Regions from separate parts of the Homo sapiens genome. Here region 1 is linked to region 2. Evidence: promoter capture Hi-C in human tissues and cell types (Jung and others, 2019). All regions are on one chromosome and are shown on one strand. The core of a region is centred on a gene start or on the middle of the fragment in contact, and the rest is flanking DNA. Distances in the headings are between cores, read along the strand shown.

Region 1 (4,958 bases), core at 1,111-3,610, 1.4 Mb after region 2:
CTGTGTTCATCCCTGAACACAACCACTGCAGTTCTAGGAAACCAACTTTCTAATATATTTAAGGATGCTTGTCAAGATTTTATTATCTGTTCTTTCATCAGAGAGATGTTTACAACAGCAGAAAAATTTAAAAATAAAAATGAAATGTTTTGAATAAGAAAATAATTAAATTATGGCACAGCCAGGGTCAGTAGTCATCTGGTCGACTGTGGATGGATCTTCCAGAGACTCCTCTCGCCTGTCATTTGTTGGCACTCAATCTCTACCTGTTGTTCAATACTTTGAGTACCACTCTGGTAATGAAATAATAAGAGTGATGGAATACTGTATATCCATTTGAAAGATGACAATTCAATTACTTGGGAAAAACACAATACATTTACAATTGGCAAAATACAAGCTCTAGAACATCAGCTTAATCTATATCTATGTTAAATGTATGTAAAACTTATGTTCCTACCAAATATTAACAGTGACTTTCCCCGATTGGTAGAATTAGGGATGGTTTTAATTTTCCCAATTTTTGGTCAGTGATATTTTCTTAATGTTTAAAAAGGAACATTAACAGTTTTTATGATAAATGAGGAAAGTTTCTTTACAACATTTTTTTGCATGCCATTCCTTAGAGTTGGGCAGCTTTTGCAAGCTGTGAGAAGCCCAGCTCCTGCTTTTCCTGATACGGTTTATGACTCACAGCTGCCACCAAGATGTCAGTTAGCTCTGTGACAGTGAAATGACTTCATTTCCCTGAACCCGGATAGAAACGGTGTCTGGGAAGAGAGAGAGTACCTGGTGGAGCCCTATGAGTAAATGTGATGATGATTCAGCTCTGGACCCTATACTCTACTCCAAAAGGAAATGTTTCAGGGCATCAGAGGGCATGAATTCATGAATGTGTATACGAGGCTTTGTTCAGGATATTTTTAAATATAGAAGTTCATTGATACAACATCCCTATGAGGTAGGGATTATTAAGAGGGCTTTATCTATAAGGAGGCTGGGATTGAGAGGGTTTGAATGATTTGGCCCAGGTCACACCATAAGAGCTGGGAGCGAGATGACAGAGTCTTTTTTGTCCACAAGCAAAATAGCCATGCCTGTACTTGCAGTCGGACCGGAGGAACACACAGGCCAACTCTGACGCAAAGCATGGTTATCACCATGCTCCTCCAATGCCACCTGCGTCTTAGCTCTGGGTTTATTATTCACTGAGTGCCTTAATGGGCACCTATCGTTTATTTTCCCTGGGCCTCAGTTACCTCATCCGTAAAATGAGACAAGAAGGTATTTGAGGTAGATGAACTTCAGGATCCCATCAGCCTTGACGAGTGCAGGATTCTATGTGAATCTAGATGAGATTTATCCAAGGACCTCCACATCCTGCCTCCCACCTCCATGAGCAGCTATTCCAAAGCTACCAGTCTGGTGATTCAGCCAAAGACCCATCATTAAAGAGCACAAAGACATCCTTGGCCAGTATCTTTCTGGATGCTGATGCTTTTCTCCTGAATTGCATGTCACCTTGGAGAACTCAGTGATGGATGAGAGAGATCCAGCTTTGACCTGGAAAACTTTCACATTGCAAGTTTTTTTTTTCTTTTTCTTTATAGATTTATAGTCAATACTTCAGCCTTTCTATGACAAGAAGCTTATATTTTTCTGGACTAGATGTAACAAACGACTTTCCAAGTGATCAGTGACATCCCAAGTTAGGGCTGCATTTTGAAATTGTTCTTTAGAATCTCTAACTTCATTGGGAACAGTGATATCAGAATGTTACCTTAATACTCTGCCAGAAAGGCATGGAGAAGATGTAAAATGTTTATAAATGAACATCCAGTGATGTGCACTTGGTAATTTCATTCAAAGATGTAAAGGAAGAGATACTATAAGGGACATTTCTGTTATTTTGTCAAATGCTATTATTTACTGAAAAATAAAATTTCACCCTATATGCTTGACCTTCAGGGACTTATTTTAAGATCATATGGCTTTTCCTAAACAGCTGAATTATTTAGTGAGATTGAACTCTCAAAGACTTTAAAATAAAGCCCACCAAAATACCAGCCACTCTGCAGTGCTACAGCTGTTCAGACCTCAATCTGCATATTTCATCTCAGCAGACTGAAGTTTGCAACTGAAAAATCGCTCAGAAAATACTTATCACCTTCCATGCCAAACGCAGAAAGGAATTTATTTGAAGCTGAGAATGTGATAGGGTGGGTGACTTACTCCCACAGTGATGCTTAGAATGGTGGATGGAGTTCTAGCTGCGTTTTTGCTGCTTCACCCCTGGGGAGGCCACGCCTCTGAGAAAGAGGCTGGGAGGCCCTTCCGCAACAGGTGTTCAGGTATGAGTGAAAGAATCTAAGGAGTGAGCTTGGAGCACTGCACCCACAGACAGGACCATCATTAGGAGCACATTCTCAGTGCGTGTTGAATGTTACGAAAAGGTTTGATTTATACATTTTTGACCTAAATAGAATTTAATCAAAATGTCTAGAGAATTTTTACGGGTTACTAGCCCCTCACTTTTTCTGAAGTACTAAAAGCAGAATCAGGAATTCAAGATTATCATGTTGAGTATAAAGCACTCTAGTCTTCCTAAAGGAATCAGTGTCAGACTGGGCTGGTGGTTCACACCTGTAATCCCAGCACTTAGGCAGGCTGAGGCAGGAGGACCACTTGAGCCTGGGAATTTGAGGCCAGCCTGGGCAACAGAGTGCGAAGTCCCTACGAAAAAAAAAAAAAAAAAAAAAAAAAAAAAAATATATATATATATATATATATATATATGGAGAGAAAGAGAGAGCGAGAGCAAGCCAGGCTTGGTGGCATGTGCCTGTAGTCCCAGCTACTCAGGAGGCTGAGGTGGGAGGATCATTTGAGCCCAGGAGGTTGAGACTGCAGTGAGCCAAGACTGCACCACTGCACTCCAGCCTGGGCAACAGAGGAAACCGTTTCTAAAAAAAAAAAAAAATCAATGGTACCTCCTATAGAGTCAGGTGATGGTGTTGATTATGATGATGATGGCAAAGACGGTGGTGAAGGTGATGGCGATGATCATGGTGATGATGATGGGCTGATGATGACTGTGATGATCATCATGGCAAAGATGACAATAGTGAGGTTGATGATGGTGAAGATACCAATAGCAACAATGAAGATGTGGCTGCTGATGTGACAAAGATGATGATGGTGATGGTGATGATGGCAACAGTGATGACAATGATGATGATGATAATGATGACCATAGTAATGATGATGATGATGACGATGATGGTAGAGGCTTACATTGATTGAACCCTTGCTAGGTAACAGATATGTTAAGCACTTAAGCCCTGAGTGTTCATTATCTTATTTAATCTTCAGCACCATCACATGAAGTACATGCTGTGATTTTCCCATTTTAAAGATATTGAAACTGAAGTTTAAACTCGGTAAGGAACTTGCTCAAGGACAATACTTCTTAAATTTTGCTATACATTAGAATCACCTGGAAAGATTTTTTAAAATCTTGACCCAGAGGTTGAGTAATGTGCTCAAGGGCACCCACCTGATGAGTGGCAGAACCAGGCTTTACAACCCAGTCACTGAGCACCAGAACCATGTCCTCTCTTGTGAAGAGCCAGTCATAGTGCCCAAGGAATTTTCAGGGCCATCATTGCTCATGTCCCTCCGGTGATGCTGTTTTTAATAATAGTAACTGGCGAGCTGGAGTATAATGTTTTGGGTAGCATGGCAGATCTTTGTGGGGCAGTGTGCTGAAACCAGCTTAAATCTCTGACTGCCGAGTTAATTTATTTCATTCATAATATTCTGTTCGAAATGAAAATATTCTCATGGTTGGTTTTGCCTGAAGGTATAAAATTCCCCAAATCAGCAAATCAGCAAATCAGCGCTTTCCTCTGATGAAGGGGGAGTTCACGGAAGACTCCAAAAATGGACCAAAATGCCTCTGTTCCCACGTTGCAGGTAGGAAATTAAAGCTCTTAAGAAAGGATGGCATTGTTTATCCATATTCAGAAACCACAGGGCTGGGATTTTTTTCAAATGAGGCCATGCTAGTTAATTAAGACTTTGCCTTTCAGGGATTATTTATATTCTTAATTTTTGATATTTTTCATGGCAGTGGAGTCTGAATAAACTCACAGGTGTGACCTCCTTCCATGCCAGCTACTACTCTCTCATTTAATCCTCATACAACACTGACATTTGAGTAATAGTTTTCCCATTTTGCAGCTGAGGAAACTGAGGCTGCGAGAGTTTATAATTTATAAAAGCTTTTATAATTTATAAAAGCTTTTATAATTTATAAAAGGTTTTATAAATTATAAAAGGTTTGCATCATTTTCACCTACCCGAATCATTCTTCTACAAAAGAAGAAAAGTTATTTCAGAAAAGCTTCCTAAGTTTTCCCTAAAATGAATTTCTGGCCTAGAAAATCAGATCCTGCTGTGTTCACACTTGGCCTCAATTTCCTCAGGCTTCTGGGTCATTAAGGAGGAGCTTTATCACCTGGCTGCAGGGTGGAGGAAGCCAAGATTCTGGACCGATAGCCTCCCACAGCTGCGTTAGTATTCCACAAAGGCGCAACCAGAAGATAGCAAGGAACTTTCACACTTGGCTTTAATTTCTCTCTGCACATTTTGTTAGCGATAAAGACCATCATGTTTTTTCTTTCTCCACCTTTTTTGCTTTTAGAATTCTGAATAGATGTTTTCATCACGTGGCTAAGTAAAACTGGAATAGCTGAGATTTCCAGAATTCAGTTAGAAGATCTGATAAGCATCTAAAACTTGTCCTAAGGTAGGGGGAGAAGTGTTTAGCTTGGAAATATAACTCGGAGTTCCCAGTCTTCCTCAAGTAGGTACTTGGGGAGATACTGAAGTAGGAGGAAGATGATTCCTACAAACCACGCCGAACAACAGACAGTTCAGAGATCTTTGTGCCTCTT
Region 2 (4,623 bases), core at 762-3,261:
ACCTGGATATGGGACACGGAGTCAAAGGAGGTCATTTTGGAGTTTCAAGATGTGACTGCCCCGCTGGATTTTAGACTTGCATGGGGCCTGTAGCCCCTTCGTTGTGGCCAATTTCTCCTTTTTGGAATGAGTATACTTACCCAATACCTGTACCCCCATTGTATCTAGGAAGTAACTAACTTGCTTTTGATTTTACAGGCTTATAGGTGGAAGGGGCTTGCCTTGCCTCAGATGAGACTTTGGAGTGTGGACTTTTGAGTTAATGCTAAAATGAGTTAAGACTTTGTGGGACTGTTGGGAAGGCATGATTGGTTTTGAAATGTGAGGGCATGAGATTTGGGAGGGGCCAGGGGCGGAATGATATGGTTTGGCTGTGTCTCCACCCAAATCTCACCTTGAATTGTAGATCCCATAATTACCACGTGTCCTGGGAGGGACCCAGTGGGAGGTAACTGAATCACAGGGGTGGGTTTTTCCCATGCCGTTCTCTTGATAGTGAATAAGTCTCAAAAGATCTGATGGTTTTATAAAGGGGAGTTCCCCTACACAAGCTCTCTTGCCTGCCACCATATAAGACGTAAGATGTGACTTTGCTCCTCTTTTGCCTTCTGGCATGATTATGAGGCTTCCCCAGCCATGTGGAACTGTGAGTCCATCAAACCTCTTAACTTTATAAATTACCCAGTCTTGGGTATGTTTTTATTAGCAGCATGAGAATGGATTAATACAGGTAGTTTAAAGGTTTAGCATTTAAGCCTCAGGACAATCTTCCGAAGTTGTTACTAGTATTATCATCAGCTTTCAGAAATGAGGAAAATAGATCAGAGGTTAGGAACCTTGCCCACAAATTATGCAGGTCATAAGGGGTTGGGCAGGGTTCAGGACTTGAAGCCGGGTCTGTATGACTCTTAACCACTACATGTAATGCCGCACAATAAGGCTGGGACAATACAGATTCGCTTAGGTCATTATCTTATCACTGTGAAAGGAAAATAAATCTTGGGGTCCCAAGATCACTAAGCTAAAGGGAAAAGTCAAGCTGAGAACTGCTTAGGGCAAACCTGCCTCCCATTCTATTCATGTATCTCTGCTCACTAAAATAAAGGCATATCTGATTGCTTCCTTTGGAGAGGCTAATCAAACTCAAAATAATGCAACCATTTGTCTCTTACCTACCTATGACCTGGAAGCCCCCTCCCCGTTTCGAGTTGTCCCGCCTTTCCAGACCGAAAAACATGTTCATCTTACATCTGTTCTTGTCTCATGTCTCCCTAAAATGTAGAAAACGAAACTGGGCTCTGACCACATTAAGAATACATCGTCAGGACCGCCTGAGGCTGTGTCATGGGTACATGTCTTCAACCTTGGCAAAATAAACTTTCTAAATGAACTGAGACCCGTCTCAGATTTTCAGGGCTCACTCCACCTCCACAATTTCTGTCACATCTGATTCATCTGGTATTATGACTAGCCTATAAGGTTTTGTTTAAACCTACTTACCTTTTCCCAACAAATACATGCAGTTTAAATGGGAACCTGTCACTGCCACTTTTAAGTGGCAAACCAGAACCAAGTGATAAAGAGGAGGTAATCGTTCTCCCAAAGTGTGCAGAAAATCAAAGACAGGAATCAAGTATAGCCAGCCACCTGTGGAAAGTTCGGAGCTTGGGGCCCCGATGTCCTTAAAAACAAAAAATGCGGAGGGCCAGTGTTTGAGGCCTTGGCGACATTCTAGAAAGCCAAGCTGCGCCCGGTCCCCTGGGATCAGGAAGACATCTGAAAGGGGATACTCCTTCCCGCCACCCTGCTCAGTCATTCACCACCGTCCCCCACCCCCGGGACCGCCACCTGTCGCGTTCCAGGCCGAGGCGGTCCAGGGTCCCCGCGGAAGGGCGGCGGCCCCCCAACCCCAGCCCAGGCCCACTCACAGCTGCAGGAACAAGGGCGCGGCAGACGGCTACAGCAGGCAGAGAGGCCCAGGCCTCCTAGCTACCCATCACCACAGCTGGGGCGCCGAAGCCGTCGGACCTGCCTCCTGGAGCCACTTCCGGGCCTCTCTAGGAAGCCTGGAGGTCTCGGAGTCTCTATGACGCGCAGGTGTCTCCTTCACCTTCACCGGCGTTGAGGTAGCAGGAGGTTCGCTTCATGAATTCCCCCACGTTCTCTGGCTGTGCGTTCCGCCGTGGCGGGAACCCTTTTAGGGTCACGTCTTCCCCCACGTCCCCTGTCTGTGCGTTCCGCCGTGGTGGGAACCCTGTTAGGGCCACGTCAACTGCTCTTCCCACCTCCAGTGTCTGCTTTTAGACTTTCACCTCCATCTTTGTTTATCCCCAAGGCCAAGACCAGTGCCTGATAAATAGGCACTCAGGTCAGCATTGCTTGGGTGGATGGATGATGGAAAAGGCTCTATAGGGAGGCAGAATATTCACTCTCCATGTATCTCTTTAAGTTTCTATTATCTCTGAGTTTCCATATCTATGTGTGCCCATAGGTTTTCCTGTGTCCCTAATTTTCCTTATTTCTCTTTGTTCTGGTCGCCAAGCAGGCAGTGATGCCAAGACTAATCTTTGTTGCTGAAGGAACCAAGGAATGCAGAAAGGAAAGTTGGCATCCTCACTCAGAGGTCTCCTTTTGAGGCCCATCTTTTGTCTCCTCATCATGAGTGTGGTTCTGTGGATGGTTGCAGACTGTACACGTGTATGGACATGCATCCTGGAATGGACCCCTGGCTGGGGAGGATTTCATTTTAGTGTCTTGGAGGATGGAAGTTTTGACTTCATGTGGTGCTCTTGCCGATAGATCTGGTACCAAAGGCAGACTCAGAGAGGTTCATATCAATTGCCTGATTTACTGCTCAGTTTTCACTAAGCACACACAGTCACAAGGACAAAGCTCAAGTCCTAGGATATAAAAATTAATGAAGCCCAGGTGAAGAAATCAAGAAGTGCCAGTCCCTGGCACTGGCCTCTCTCATAGGATGCTCTGGCTTTCCTGCCTGTCTTGTCCTCACCTATTAGGCAGGCATAAGTCACAGGAGACTTCTTGTGCTAAGCAGTCTTAAAGAACAGCTTTGCAGTGGCTGCTTAGGATACATAAAAATTAGAAGAGAAGAGGAAGGGTATTCAGGGGGCTGAGAGACCAGCTATATGCTCTTGAGGCCAGCAGCTAAGGAAGAAAAGACCCACTGAGGATGCAGTAAAGAAGACAGACTTCCTTTGGGGAATTACAGGATCCTCTGAGGGATACCCAGATTTAGAGTGTGTGGATAAACATGAGAAATGGTGAATTTAAATGTTAGTATTCTTGTGCCACCGAGGACTCTTTTAAAATATAATCAGGCGTGTTTTAAAGGAAAATTACAAACTCTATAATTGCTTCCTTAGCTTCCATCATAATTTAGTGAGTTGATTTTATAAAGGTCTGACCAAGAGATCTAAGACAGAAATGACTGGAGAAAGAAATTAACTTCAATGTGAGTTTGTATATCAGTGTTTGTTTAGTATTGTCTTCCCCCAATAATATGTCCAGGCAGTGGATGCATCTCAGAAAGATCAGTTTGCTGTCACAATTACTCACAGGTGTGCAGTATTTTATTTCTCACTCCGATCACAGTCCAATTCAGTCTGCAGGGAAGGGGAAGAGTGCTGTGCTCCACATAATCACTCAGGGACCCAGGCTTCCCCCATTTGTTATGCCATCATGTTCAACTCTTGGCTGCCAAGGTCACTACAGAAGAGGAAGTAAGAGCTTGGCTTTCCCCAACACTTTCACTTAAAGTCTCCTGCATCCCCTTGAAATTCTTCAATCTCTTCACAGCACTTAGCTCATCTGAAATTATCTTGCATGTTGCTATAATGAAAGCTCCGTGAGTGCAGAGACCTGCTTGATTGATTGGTGTATCTCCACTACCTACTATAGTGTCTGGCATAGAGACAGAATTTTTTTTTTTTTTTTTTTTTTTTTTTTACTGGTGAATGAATCAGCAAATGAATATATGTCACATTTCTGGTTGTCCCTGTTCAAAATCCCAGGCTTGCAAACGACACCTTCTTTTGGCCCAGCTTGGATCAGAAATCACCTCTACCATTGTCAGCTGTGGCAAAAGGACACAAGAACTGCTATAAACTGTGGTCATTTCTAAAGAACGGAAATTATTGTGAGCTTGGTAGGCACATGAGAACTTTGCTATCCAAAAGTGTGGATCAGTAACATCAACATCACCTGAGAGCTTATTAGAAATGTTGGGTCTTGGATCCCATTCTAGGCTTAATAAATACAAATCTGTATTCAGCAAAATCCCTAGGTAATTCCTATGTATAGTAAAGGCTGATAAGCACTGCCCTAAAAGTGCTATGACTTAGTAGTAGTAGCACTACAACTCTCTGAGGTGGGTAAGAGAAACCTTGTAATAGTTCCACACTGCATCTGGAAATCAGGTGAGTTTAAGTGACTTACCCAAGGTCACAGAACTAGTAAATGACAGACCTGTGATTAAAAGCCAAGGCTTCTGGCCGGGTGCGGTGGCTCACGCCTGTAATCCCAGCACTTTGGGAGGCTGAGGCGGGCGGATCACGAGGTCGGGAGATCAAGACCATCCTGGCTAACACAGTGAAACCCTGTCTC

Evidence for each region. The method cuts DNA at HindIII sites, captures the fragments that hold promoters and counts their contacts. A contact is called where the count stands out against the background at its distance.
Region 1: a contact is called between a fragment that was not itself captured here and the fragment with the promoter of SDR42E1 in region 2, in 1 of the 25 tissues and cell types used here (dorsolateral prefrontal cortex).

What each region holds. Positions count from the first base shown.
Region 1 is chr16:83,440,968-83,445,925 of GRCh38, forward strand. All of the region lies in intron 6 of CDH13 (cadherin 13), which reads left to right. Among named protein-coding and RNA genes, the nearest start is that of CDH13-AS1, 44 kb to the left of the region's middle. The HindIII fragment of the contact is 3,864 bases long and covers 429-4,292 here.
Region 2 is chr16:82,009,459-82,014,081 of GRCh38, forward strand. It overlaps SDR42E1 (short chain dehydrogenase/reductase family 42E, member 1), which reads right to left and starts at 2,012. Exons shown (of 3, transcript NM_145168.3): 1 at 1,929-2,012. RefSeq lists a silencer at 1,787-1,936 and enhancers at 2,177-2,266, 2,277-2,356. The HindIII fragment of the contact is 11,252 bases long and covers 1-4,623 here.